Linked DNA regions of Homo sapiens: all the other regions are linked to region 3. Evidence: promoter capture Hi-C in human tissues and cell types (Jung and others, 2019). All regions are on one chromosome and are shown on one strand. Each heading gives the region's core, a stretch centred on a gene start or on the middle of the fragment in contact. The rest is flanking DNA. Distances are from core to core; before and after follow the strand shown. Region 1 has its middle 24 kb from the start of ANXA1. Region 2 overlaps LOC105376084 (a long non-coding RNA gene). Region 3 holds the start of RORB (RAR related orphan receptor B).

Region 1 (4,218 bases), core at 924-3,423, 1.3 Mb after region 3:
TCAATCTGTCTCACATCAGTCTGGATCTTGTCTATGCTCAGACCTTCAATAGAGTTTAGCAATGATGTTCATTCAGCTCATCTTATGATTAGCAAAAAAGCAAAATGCTGAAAACAAATGCTCCCTGTCAATTAGGGCTATTTTGAAATGGTAGAACCACTCCATCCCTAAGAGATTTTACAGAAGCATGCTAGTCCTTGAGGTAAAGCAACTTTCCTGCTGCAGTTGTGGCCCTGGTGTCTTCTCTAGAATGGATCTTTTCCCCAACATGTTGGACTAACCAAGAAAAGAGAGCTAGAGAGACCGTATGACACAGCAGTGCTCCAGTCTTGTATCCTTGGTATTCGAGTATAATTCTTGATGTCCACCAAATGCCTTAGCATAAAGAATAAGCACTTTGAGCTAACCTGTAATAGCACAAGCTATCATTTTTTGTCATAATTTTACTAAGTGCTAGCTATTGTACCAGACAATAGCAATACAACAATAAAAGGCAAAAAAAAAGAAGAAAGAAAAGAAATAGTCTATGCAAACAACCTGTTCATATTCTAGAAGAAGTGACAAATATTAACTAAATAATCGCTTAAATATAAAATTACAACTCTGGCATTTAATATAGTACAGAGATATGTAGTGTTAAAAGGGTCTATGAGATATTTGAGCTGATATTTGAAGAATTAGCAAAGTTAACAAGAATGAAATGAGAAAAATATAGTGTTTAGGCTGAGGAAGTCCAAAGCCCTTGAGACAGGAGGAAGCATAGACAGAGTAAGGCTTGTAGAAGGCCAGTGCAGGGGAATACAGAGAGTGCTGAAAAGTATGCCGCCCAAAGAAGATGGAGAGCTGGGGGGGAAGCCACGCCCTACTGGCACTAAGCTGAGTGACTAAGGAGACTGGCATTTTGTGGAATCACAAACAAAAGCTTCTCAGTATTGTAAGGTGCCACCCAAGGGGTTGCATGGGGTAACCACATTAACATTTGCCATCTGGGCAGAGCAAAATACGTGTGACAAAATATAGACATTAGTCACTCAGCTTAGTGCCAGTATTGAACTGGCAAGGCTCACACTTGCCCCTGGTAAGGCTCTGTCATCTTTAATCCATTCAAAGTGGATTAAAGAAGTTTCAACACGTGGTCTCTGGGAAAGATGGCTGCCCTGAGTAAAAGAAAAGATAGGAAAGGGAAAGGAGAGAAAGAGAGAGAAAAGCATAGCCTGTGATGAGGTAGGGAAGGCAAGTAGCTCAGGAAGGCCAGAGAAAGACCCACCCATTGTAGCAACACTGAATCAAAAGTTCAGGCGGTCGCTTGACAGTTGTGAAGGGATCTTTTCCAGGGGTCCTATCAGCTCTCAAGTTTCCCCCTTTGGGGAGGAAAAAGCTCCCCATGTCCCATGATCCTGTACACGCCTAATCCTTTCACCCATAGCCATCAGCAAACAGTGCAAGGCAGATTAATCCACAGAGAATAGTGGTTAACATCCCATAGTGCCAAATCCATTTTTAACAAAGAGAGACTTTACTGAGAGGGGCCTCTAACCCCCTACATTTTAGGAAGCACTCTAACCTTCCTATGCTGGTCCTCAAACCCAAGTTTGGTCAAGCGTCCTTGCCTTTTATTCACGCCTGTAATTCCAGCACTTTTGGAGGCCGAGGTGGGTGGATCACCTGAGGTCAGGAGTTCCACCAGCCTGACCAACCTGGTGAAGCCCCGTCTCTACTAAAAAATACAAAAATTAGCTGGGTGTGGTAGCACATGCCTGTAATCCCAGCTACTCGGGAGGCGGAAGCATGAGAATGGCTTGAACCTGGGAAGCAGAGGTTGCACAGCCTGGACAACAAGAGCGAAACTCCGTCTCAAAAAAAAAAAGTGGGGTGGGGGGAATTTTAACCTTCTTTGTCTTAGGAGAGACTCTCCTAAGTTGGGCCTCTAACCCAACATCATCCTTTACTGGGGTAAAATGTACCCCACCACTTTCTCAAAGTTGGTGCTGCAATCTATTTCCTTCAGGTCAGGGGTCTCTTCAGTATAGTCCCTTCATGGTCACCAGGAAGATGTTACCAGAAAAGGGTCCTGATCCAGACCCCAAGAGAGGGTTCTTGGATCTCACGCAAGAAAGAATCTGGGGCAAGTCCATAGAGTAAAGTGAAAGCAAGTTCATTAAGAAAGTAAAGAAATAAAGAATGGCTACTCCATAAGCAGAGCAGCCTTTTCTCCTAAATCTTGATAATAAATATATTTCTTTCTAATATTTGACATTTACAACTCTCAAGTATTTTTTTCTTTAAACCTAACCATTGAAGGGGAATATGATATCAAAAAAAGTAGAAAATATACAATTGCATTTCATGGCCTTGTTTATTAGATTTGCCAAAAAAAAAAAATCACTATATCTGTAAGCAAAAGACAATATTTCTATTTTTTACTTTTTGGGTAAAAATGTACTTATTATTATATATACTTCCTAGATTTTTATATATTTGAAAATATTATTACCATTGTGTTTAAGAGATTCCTCACTGATTGTACAGAGTTTCCACTACTCCATGACAAAACCAACTTATTTTATAATAGTATCTTGCAACAAGACCTGGCATCTGAAGCAGGTTCTCATTTAGTTTCATTTTTCCCTCATATCTATGGTCTTTCTTCTCATAATTTTCTTCCTGTAACTTTAGTGAAATGGATCCATAGTCAGAAAGCCTGTGTTCAAATTTGTGTTTATTCATTGACCTACTGTATGAACTTGGACAAGTCCAGAGAAATCTGGAAACTTTGATTTCTTCATTTGTAGAAAGCAGATAACACCTCCCTCCCAGGTTTATTTGAAAACAGAATAATATTTTTGTAAAAATGCATCTAATTATAGTTGTTAGGTCTTAATTCTCAATACAAAAGATAATTAATTCATTCAGGAATATGAAATGCCACTAGCCATTCAGGTTTTTGCTGTTTTGTAGCCTTTCCTGAATCCATTACTCTCTCTTGATTTACCAAAGCGCTTCCTATGTGCCTATATATTACCTTTAATACATTATACCATCATATTTTGCATAGCTTTTTTCTCCCTGGCTATATTATGAGCTTTACAATTAGATAGCTATTTTAATAGACTTTATTTTTATAGAGCAGTTTTAGGTTTACAGAAAAATTGCACGGAAATTAGAGTCTCCATACACCCTTTCTACCTCTCCCTTATTTTTCCCTTGATATATTATTAACCAATATCCATAGTTTACATAAGATTCACTCTTTGTATTATACAGTTCTACAGGTTCTTGGAAATGTGTAACTGCCATGTATCTACCATTATAGTATCATACAGAATAGTTTCATTGCCCTAAAACTGTTCTGTGCTCCACCTATTTATCCCTCCCCCCTTCAACCTAACCCCTGGAAATCATTGATCTTTTTACTGTCTCCATAAGTTTTGTCTTTTTCAATATTTTCAGTATTTATATAGTTGGAATCATGTAATATGTAGACTTTCAGACTGGCTTTTTTCACTCAGCAGTATGTGTTTAAGATTCTTCCATGTCTTTTGCTTGATAGCTCATTTCCTTTTATTATTAAATAGTATTCTACTGTTTGTTTATTCACTCACCTTTTGAAAGGCATCTTGGTTGCTTCTAAGTTTTGGAAATGACAAGTAACCCTGCTATAATCATTTGTGTGCAGGTTTCTTGCTTGTGGACATAAATTTTCAACTTGTTTGCATAAATACCTAGGAGCATGATTGCTGAATGATGTAAGACTGTGTTTAGCTTTGTTAAAAAAAAAAAAAAAAAAAAGGCCAAATTGTTTTCCAAAGCGGCTGTGCCATTTTGCATTCACACCAGGAATGAAAGAGAGTTTCTGTTGCTTGACATGGAATGGATTTTAGTTATTCTAATAGGAGTGTAGCGGTGTCTCATTGTTTTAATTTGCAATTCCCTAATGATATATGATGTTGAGCATATTTTCATATGCTTATTTACCATCTTTATATCTTCTTTAGTGAGGTACCTGTTCAGATCTTTCGCTTATTTTTTAAAATTTTTTAACTTCTTTTACTGTTCAGACTTTAGAGGTTTTTTTATATTTTTGTTTATCAGTTCTCTAACAGATATTTGTCTTGCAAAAATTTTCTCCAAGTCTGTAGTTTATCTTTTTAGTCTCATAATAGTGTATTTGCAAAGAAGAAGTTTTTAATTTTAGTGAAATTCACCTTACCATTTTTT
Region 2 (4,162 bases), core at 1,051-3,550, 1.0 Mb after region 3:
TCCCCCTGAAAAGTGGAAAGAGAAAAGGATGCCCACTTCTACTCAACATAGTACTGGAAGTCCTAGCTAGTACTATCTGACAAGGGAAAGAAATTAAGGCATCTAAATCAGTAAAGAGGAAATCAAACTGTTGCTGTTTGCTGATGATATGATTATATACCTAGAAAACACTAAAGACTACTCCAAAAAGCTCCTAGAACTGATAAATGAATTAAGCAAAGTTTCAGATAAAAAATTAATGTACACAAATCAGTAGCTTTCCTGTAAACCAACAGTGACAAAGCTGAAAGTCGAACTCAACCCCACTTTATAATAGTTGCAAAAAAATAAAATACTTAGGAATATACCTAACCAATGAGCTGAAAGACCTCTACAAGTAAAACTACAAAACACTGCTGAAAGAAATCATAGACGACACAAAAAAATGGAAACACATCTCATGCTCATGGATGCATAGGATCAATATTGTGAAAATGACCATACTGCCAAAAGTGATCTACAAATTCAATGCAATTCCCATCAAAATACCATCATCATTCTTCACAGAACTAGAAAAAACAATCCTAAAATTCGTATGGAACCAAACATATAGCCTGCATAGCCAAAGCAAGACTAAACAAAAATAACAAATCTGGAGGCATCTCATTACCTGATTTCAAAGTATTCTATAAGGTCACAGTCACCAGAACAGCATGATACTGGTATAAAAATGGGCACATAGACCAATGGAACAGAATAAAGAACCCAGAAATAAACCCAAATGCTTACAGCCAACTGATCTTTGACAAAGCAAACAAAAACATAAAGTGGGGAAAAGACACCTTCTTCAACAAATGGTGATGGAATAATTGGCAAGCCACGTGTAGGAGAATGAAACTAGATCCTCATCTCTCACCTTATACAAAAATCAACTCAAGATGAATCAGGGACTTAAATTTAAGAAATGAAACTATAAAAATTCTAGAAGATAACATTGGAAAAACCCTTCTAGACATTGTCTTAGGCAAGGATTTTATGACAAAGAACCCTAAAGCAAATGCAGTGAAAACAAAGATAAATAGGTGGGACTTAATTACACCAAAGAGTTTTCGCAGGGCAAAAGGAACAGTCAGCAGAGTAAACAGACATCCCACAGAGTGGGAGATAATCTTCACAATCTATACATCTGACAAAGACTAATATCCAGAATCTACAACAAACTTAGGCTGAGGCAAAGTCTTCATGCCCAAGAACCTAAAAGCAAATTCAACAAAACAAAGATAAATAGATAGGACTTAATTAAATTAAAAAGCTTCTGTACAACTAAAGAAATAATTAGCAAACAGACAACCCACAAAGTAGAAGAAAATCTTTATGAACTACACATCTGACAAAGGTCTAATATCCAGAATCTACAGGGAACTCAAACAAATCAGCAAGAAAAAAAAAACAATTCCATAACAAATTGGACTAAGGACATGAATAGACAATTCTCAAAAGAAGATGTACAAATTGCCAACAAACATATGAAAAAATGCTCAACATCACTAATTATCAGGGAAATGCAAATCAAAACCACAATGTGATACCACCCTACTCCCGCAAGAATGGCCACAATAAAAAAATAATAGATGTTAGCGTGGATGTGGTGAAATGGAATACTTTTACATTGCTGGTGGGAATGTAAACTAGTACAAACACTATGGAAAACAGTGTGGAAATTCCTTAAAGAATTATTAAATAAAAGTAGATATACCTTTTGATACAGCAGTCCCTCTCTTGAGTATCTACCCAGAGGAAAAGAAGTCATACAAAAAAGACACTTGTATATGCATGTTTATAGCAGCACAATTCACAATTATGAAAATATGAAATCAACCCAAATGCCCATCAATCAATGTGTGGATAGAGAAAAAAATGTGATATATATATGTATGTATGTATATATATATGTATATACATATATGTATGTATGTATATATATATGTATATACATATATGTATGTATGTATATACATATATGTATATACATACGTATATATATACACACACACACCATGGAATACTACACAGACATTAAAAAAATGAAATAATGCAACCTGCATGGAATTGGAGACCATTATTCTAAGTGAAATAACTCAGGAATGGAAAACCAAACATTGTATGTTCTCACTCATAAGTAGGAGCTAAGCTATGTGGATGCAAAGGCATTAGTATGATAATTTGGACTTTGGGGACTTGTGGGAAAAGGTAGAAGGGGGTTCAGGGATAAAAGACTACACATTGGGTACAGTACACTGCGTGGGTGAAGGGTGCACCAAATTTTCAGAAATTACCACTAAAGAACCTATCCAGGAAACCAAACACCACCTGTTTCCCAAAAACCTATTGAAGTAAAAAATGAAAATAAAAAGAGGAATGAGAAATCGAGCCAACAAAACAAAAATAGAGAGTGTGAAACTTAAAATATAAAAAAAGAATGGTCTAATACAAGGAGGTCTCACTATATTGCCCAGGCTGGTCTTGAACTCCTGGTCTTAAGCAATCTCCTCCTGCAGTGGCCTCCCAAAATGCTAGGATTACAGGTACAAGCCACTACTCCTGGTCAAGAATTCTATTTTGAATCATCATAAAACAGTAAATGCCCTTGGTAATTTCTGACATGCACTTGGATAGGAAATTAAAAAATATATAGAAAGTGACAGAATTGAAAGAAAAGACCTCCTTCTCCCAAAATCTTTCCCCAAAGTTCAGGCCAGGGCAATAAACAATCTTTTTTAAACATCTAAATAGTGATCCAGGGCCATAGGGAATAACACCACAGGAGAAAGAAAATGTATTCCAGAGTATAGCATAGAGCAAATATATGCTTATGTATATATATTGTGATGATTAATTATATGGATTTTCGGCTCTGTGGATTTTTGATGTGACAGACCCCATAATTGTGACTCAACTTCTTAAAATCTCTTTATCTCACCTTCTTTCTGTAGAGAGAGAGTGGGAGAGAGAGATTTTGTGTATACATCTCTCTCACACACACACACACACACAAACACAAACAATATTGGCTCTGTTCCTTTGGATAGTGTTGACTAATACAATGTGTATAAAATTACATCTATTTACATAAATGACATTGTAATATATAACACATTAACAGTATTGCATGTCTTCTTATTTACTAATGATAGTGTCAACATTTTTATGTTCATAATGTACAAATACCCCTTATTCTCTTGACAGACATTCAATGACTGTCATGTATACAAACCATGACTATCCAGGTGCATGAATTAAAATTATTTGTTTGCTTCTGAAGTATATGTAGACTCTATTCATCAGCTATTTCCACCACACTGCTGTTGACAAAATATCTCATAATTCAGTAGGTTACATCAGCATTATTCCCATGTTCATGGAAACTGGTGGCTGTGCCTCAGGCTTTATGTTGTCTAGACTTAAATCCAGATTGTAGGAATGGTTCAGGTCTCTCTCCATTTATGTCTGTTTCGGAACACTGGCTGAAAAGGCCAAAGTTATGTTTGAGCATGCTCTTCTCCTAGAGGATCACAAGCTTGAAGGACACAATGTTTAAGCACATTTAAGACCTCTGTTCTTCACATCTAATCTACTGATCAATACAAATCAGATGTCTAAGGGCAACATCAAGAGAACAAACATATACGCTCTTCCCATAATAGTATACACGTCGAGTGTCCCTTATCTGAAAGCTTGGAACCAAAAGTGTTTCAGATTTCAGCTTTTTTTTCCTCAGATTTTGAAATCTTTGTATATACATAGTGAAATATCTTGGAAATGGGACCCAAGTCTAAATAAAAACATATATTTATGTTTCACATACACCTTATATACATAGACTAAAGATTATTTTATACAATGTTTCAAATAATTTTGTGCAGGAAAAAAGTTTGTGTGCATTGAACCATCAGGAAGCAAAGGTGTCACTATTTTAGACAACCCTGTGGACAATCTGGTTGCTTGACATCAACGTCATTCCTGACTCTGAATTTATATCCTACCAATAAGCAATCATTTTCTTATACTTAGTTACATATAAGTACTTAACATTACAAAATATGAAATTCCATTGATACAGTGAAAAATTAATGTGTTCAGAGTAACTAAGCAGCAGAGTAGCATTATCAGAATACCTGTATCA
Region 3 (3,844 bases), core at 988-3,487:
ACACGGGTGCCCCACTCCCAGCGAGCCGGCCAATCAAGACCATCCCATCAGGACGTCCTTGTTTCTTATCTACAGTCAACCCCCTCCCCCATGGACAGTCTCTCTCCGTTCCTTCTTCTCCTTCCCTTTCCTGACACATCCCAGCGTCCAGCCAGCAAACCCTTGAGTCCAGGCTCGGGGCTCACCGGGTGCGGGAGGGAGTGGGAGTGAGACCCGCTGCCTCCTGGGGTGCTCCTCTAGGGGCGTAGGGGGACTGGGTGGGAGAGGATCACTTTCAGTGGAAGGAGGAGACCAGTGATTGCATCCCAACTCTCCCAAGTGCTCCCTGCCTAGACCACCTCTCTCCGGGTCTGGGATGCAAGAAGGTCTGGAGCTGGCCGTTACTAACTTTCTGTTGTCAAGACCCAGGGGTACGTGCGAAGGATAGAGAAGAGCCCCCGATTAACCGCTGTGTGGCCAGGAAGAGGGACTGGGAGTGGGGGTGGGTGCCCAGAGCTTGCACAGATCCCCATGTCAAGCGGACACCCGCCTGGCTCTTCAGTAAAAGAGTGAAGAAAGGCCGAGCACAGCGCGAAGGAAACCTGAGGTCTCCGGCAAGGCAGGAGAGGAGACCAAGTGACTCCCCGAAACCCACCCTCCAGCCCTTCGAGAGGCCCAGAGTCCAGCCGGAGCAAGCGTAACGCTACAGTCCCTGGCGCGCATCCCTGCAGACCCCAGCTCGCCCCGGGGTCCCGCCGCCGCCGCCGCCACCGCCTGCGACTGCGAGGGTCCTGGCCCGAGGGTGCACCAGCACCTCCTTCCACTACCGGCCCTTTATCTGACAAAAGAGCCGGAGCCCATGACTCTCCGACTGTGAGCAGTGTGGCCTTTCCAAGCCTCCAGAACTTTCTCATTACAACTTTTCCGGGGTCGCACTACTCCCTGGGCCGCGCGGGCTCGGGCACGAGGACCTGGCCAGGGCGCAGCGCCGGCACGAAGGCGCGCGCCGCAGAACTGTTTCCTCAGCCGCGTGCCGGGGAACTAACTGTTTCCTCAGCCGCGTCCAGCCTCGCAGCACTGCTCTTCTGCTTGCTACTCCAGCGAAGGGACATGCCTGCTGGCCAGGACGCTTAGTGGGCCTCGTAACCTGGCGAGTGTGTGCCCGCGCGTGTCCACCCTGCCCCCGGCCGGTGCGCCCCGCGCGCCCAAACCCGGCCGGCGACCACTGCGCGCCGGGCGCTTCCAAACTGCTCCTGTCCAGAGGCATCCCTCTTTCGGCTTTCTCCATCCCGCGTCCGCTTCCGCACCCGAGAGCGACAAGCAAAAAAGATTCAGTGCAACTCAAGGACTGGTAAGAACCAACTAGCCTGTCTCCCCTCTCCAAAAAAGCGCCCTCCCGCGTCCCTCCAGAACTCCCGAAAGACATCAACACCTTCCCGCAACTTTCTACGCCCAGGCCATTTGCAGCCCCACCTGCGAGAGCGAATTCGGGGAACTGCGCCTGGGCAACCTCTTTCCCTTTCTGCTGGGTGCCCTCCCCTCCCCCATCTCCCCGTCTGGCTGGAGTTGGCCGGACTCGGGGAGCCTCGGTGCCCGCAGACTCGCTTACCTCGCATGGTGTGGCCGCTCTCCCGCTCCGCGTAGTCATGAAGCTGCTCCCAGCCCGAACCCCGGAGAGCCCAAAAATCCCGCTCAGCACGAGTGAAGAAGGTGGTCGGCGAAGAGCTGCTCTGCCGAGAAAACCATCCCTTTAGGCGGACGCCGTGGCTGCAGGGTGACGTTTGCCGCCGCCGCCGCTATGTTAACAGTTTTGATGTTGGTGGTGACTGTTTTGATGATTGTTTGTTTGTTTGTTTGTTTTCAGGAAGGGTGAAAAAAAAATGTTCTGGCTGTCTGGTGCCTGGGTTTTGTTTTGGTTTTGTTTTTCTTTTTCTTTCTCTCCAATGTGCTTGCTTTTTAAAAAATGCCACCGCCTCCGGCTCAGAAGATTTCTTTTGTGATCACTTGGACTGAGGAGGAGGAGGAAGGGCAGCAGCAGGAGGAGGAGTTGGTGGTGGTTTTGTTAGTTACAAAGAAGAGGGAGAAGGAACAAGGGGGAAAAAAGGAAACAGAAAGAAAAGAAAGAAAGGCGGTGTGGATGGCAGAGCATGTGCGTTTTCACATGACATCTGTGCCTGTTAGCGGATCCACAATGTGAATTTTCACTGTTCAGTTACAGGGAGGAAGGGAGCAGCGAGAGAGAAAGAGAGGGGAGAGATGGAGAGAGAGCGCTGAGAGGGGCTTATACGCGAGGGCGGGCTTGGCCGCGACTTCCAGGCCCCGCCTGCTGTCAGCGCAGCCGCCAATCAGAGCCCAGCAGCGCCTGGAGAGGCTGGGACCGCGGGGAGGGGACGTGGTGGAGGCGGGGGGTGGGGCGGGGGCTGGGGACCAGGGAGTCCGAGGTGGCCGGGGCTGCGACGGGGAATTCGAGACTGTCCGAACTGGGCAGAGAAGAAGGGCCGACCGGGAGAGTCGGGCAGATCCGCAGGTGACAGGCACTTCCGACTCCAGCAGAGAAGGGGACACTGATCACGGAAAACCTTCGGAGGCAAGAGACGCGGGGCTCCCCGGGTTTCACGTTCGGTCCCTGTCTCGCAACCCCCGCGGGCCCGGCAGAGTTAGTTTTGAATTTATGGCAGCGCTTTGCCGAGCGCTATTTGGGTAAACTTCGGTCTCCGGCGGGGGTTTCCGTGGGCAGGTGGTTTGGGTGTTGGTGGTAGAATAATGCAAACCCACTTTCATCACTTTTAGCACAACTAAAATGCAGTCCCATGGAAGTAGCTGTCCCCTTCCTTTAAAAACGTCCGTCAGATGCTCCCTGACCCTCTTCTAAAAAAAAAAAAAAAAGAAAGAAAGAAAGAAAAAAACGTGTATATGTTCTTTTGTCTGGGAAATTGATTTTTATTAGCATTTGGAGACTCCCCTGGCGATGGACTACAGGACTGAAGGAGAACAGCTCAAATTGGCGGTGTAGCCACCTTACTAATTCAAGAGAAATGGCTGTTGCTAGAAGGTGTGATTGCAGGGTGCTCTTTAGAAAGGTTTTAGAAGGAAGACATTGTTAACTTTAGTTAGAGGCGATTGGTAACTGAACATAGATAAACTTACTTGTATTCCTTAGGTGAAAATTGTCATCTATGACCATTTATTTGTATTTTGATAAAAATCTAATACATATATCCAAACTGTTCCTTTGCAAGTTTTTCCAACTCAGTTGACAAAATAAGCATATAGATGATTACATCTACTTCCTTCCCAATAGTAGGGAACTTCTTAAATACTTGAGTTAATTGAACACCCTAAAAGATTGGGAGGTGAAAATATTTGCCTCATTCACTCAGTCTTGAGGCTGGGAGATGTCTACTCATTAGCATACCTGTTGGCACAGCAGGCCTCATCATCATTTAAGTATCCAAATAATTTGATTTTTGACTGGTATTTATTCATGATATGTCATGTAACACAAAGTACAATGTAGAATTGGCAGTTATTTAGTTAATTAGGTCGCTCTACACTGCCAAGTAGTTTTTTCCTTCCTGATTAAATGAAAAATGAATTATCTGCTGAATTTTCACCAGTATTAAATTGACGTAGCCCTGCTATATGCCATCCCATTTGCAAACCAATGTGTAATTTAGGAAAATTTTAGTATTAAGAGTGAAAGTTGATTGAGTCATTAATTAAATGAAATGAACAAAAGGAAGTTACTGTTTAGAATAGTTATTCCTTTATAAATATCTTTCTCCTAGATTTGTAATTGACACAGTAGTTAATCTTTTAAGATAATATTTAAGGCTCCCTGGTTTTATCATTTTTAATCAAGTAA

Evidence for each region. The method cuts DNA at HindIII sites, captures the fragments that hold promoters and counts their contacts. A contact is called where the count stands out against the background at its distance.
Region 1: a fragment that was not itself captured here is called in contact with the fragment with the promoter of RORB in region 3 in 1 of the 25 tissues and cell types used here (lymphoblastoid cells).
Region 2: a contact is called between a fragment that was not itself captured here and the fragment with the promoter of RORB in region 3, in 2 of the 25 tissues and cell types used here (dorsolateral prefrontal cortex and mesenchymal stem cells).

The regions. Positions count from the first base shown.
Region 1 is chr9:73,173,428-73,177,645 of GRCh38, reverse strand. No RefSeq gene overlaps it. Among named protein-coding and RNA genes, the nearest start is that of ANXA1, 24 kb to the right of the region's middle. The HindIII fragment of the contact is 4,050 bases long and covers 149-4,198 here.
Region 2 is chr9:73,462,912-73,467,073 of GRCh38, reverse strand. It overlaps LOC105376084 (a long non-coding RNA gene), which reads right to left. Exons shown (of 7, transcript XR_007061581.1): 7 at 2,507-4,162. Among named protein-coding and RNA genes, the nearest start is that of ANXA1, 310 kb to the right of the region's middle. The HindIII fragment of the contact is 5,473 bases long and covers 1-4,162 here.
Region 3 is chr9:74,495,728-74,499,571 of GRCh38, reverse strand. It overlaps RORB (RAR related orphan receptor B), which reads right to left and starts at 2,237. Exons shown (of 10, transcript NM_006914.4): 1 at 1,589-2,237. The coding sequence starts at 1,595. RORB-AS1 (RORB antisense RNA 1) reads left to right here and starts at 1,019. Exons shown (of 5, transcript NR_125791.1): 1 at 1,019-1,330. RefSeq lists an enhancer at 1-335 and silencers at 2,005-2,299, 2,204-2,393, 2,389-2,601. The HindIII fragment of the contact is 7,823 bases long and covers 1-3,844 here.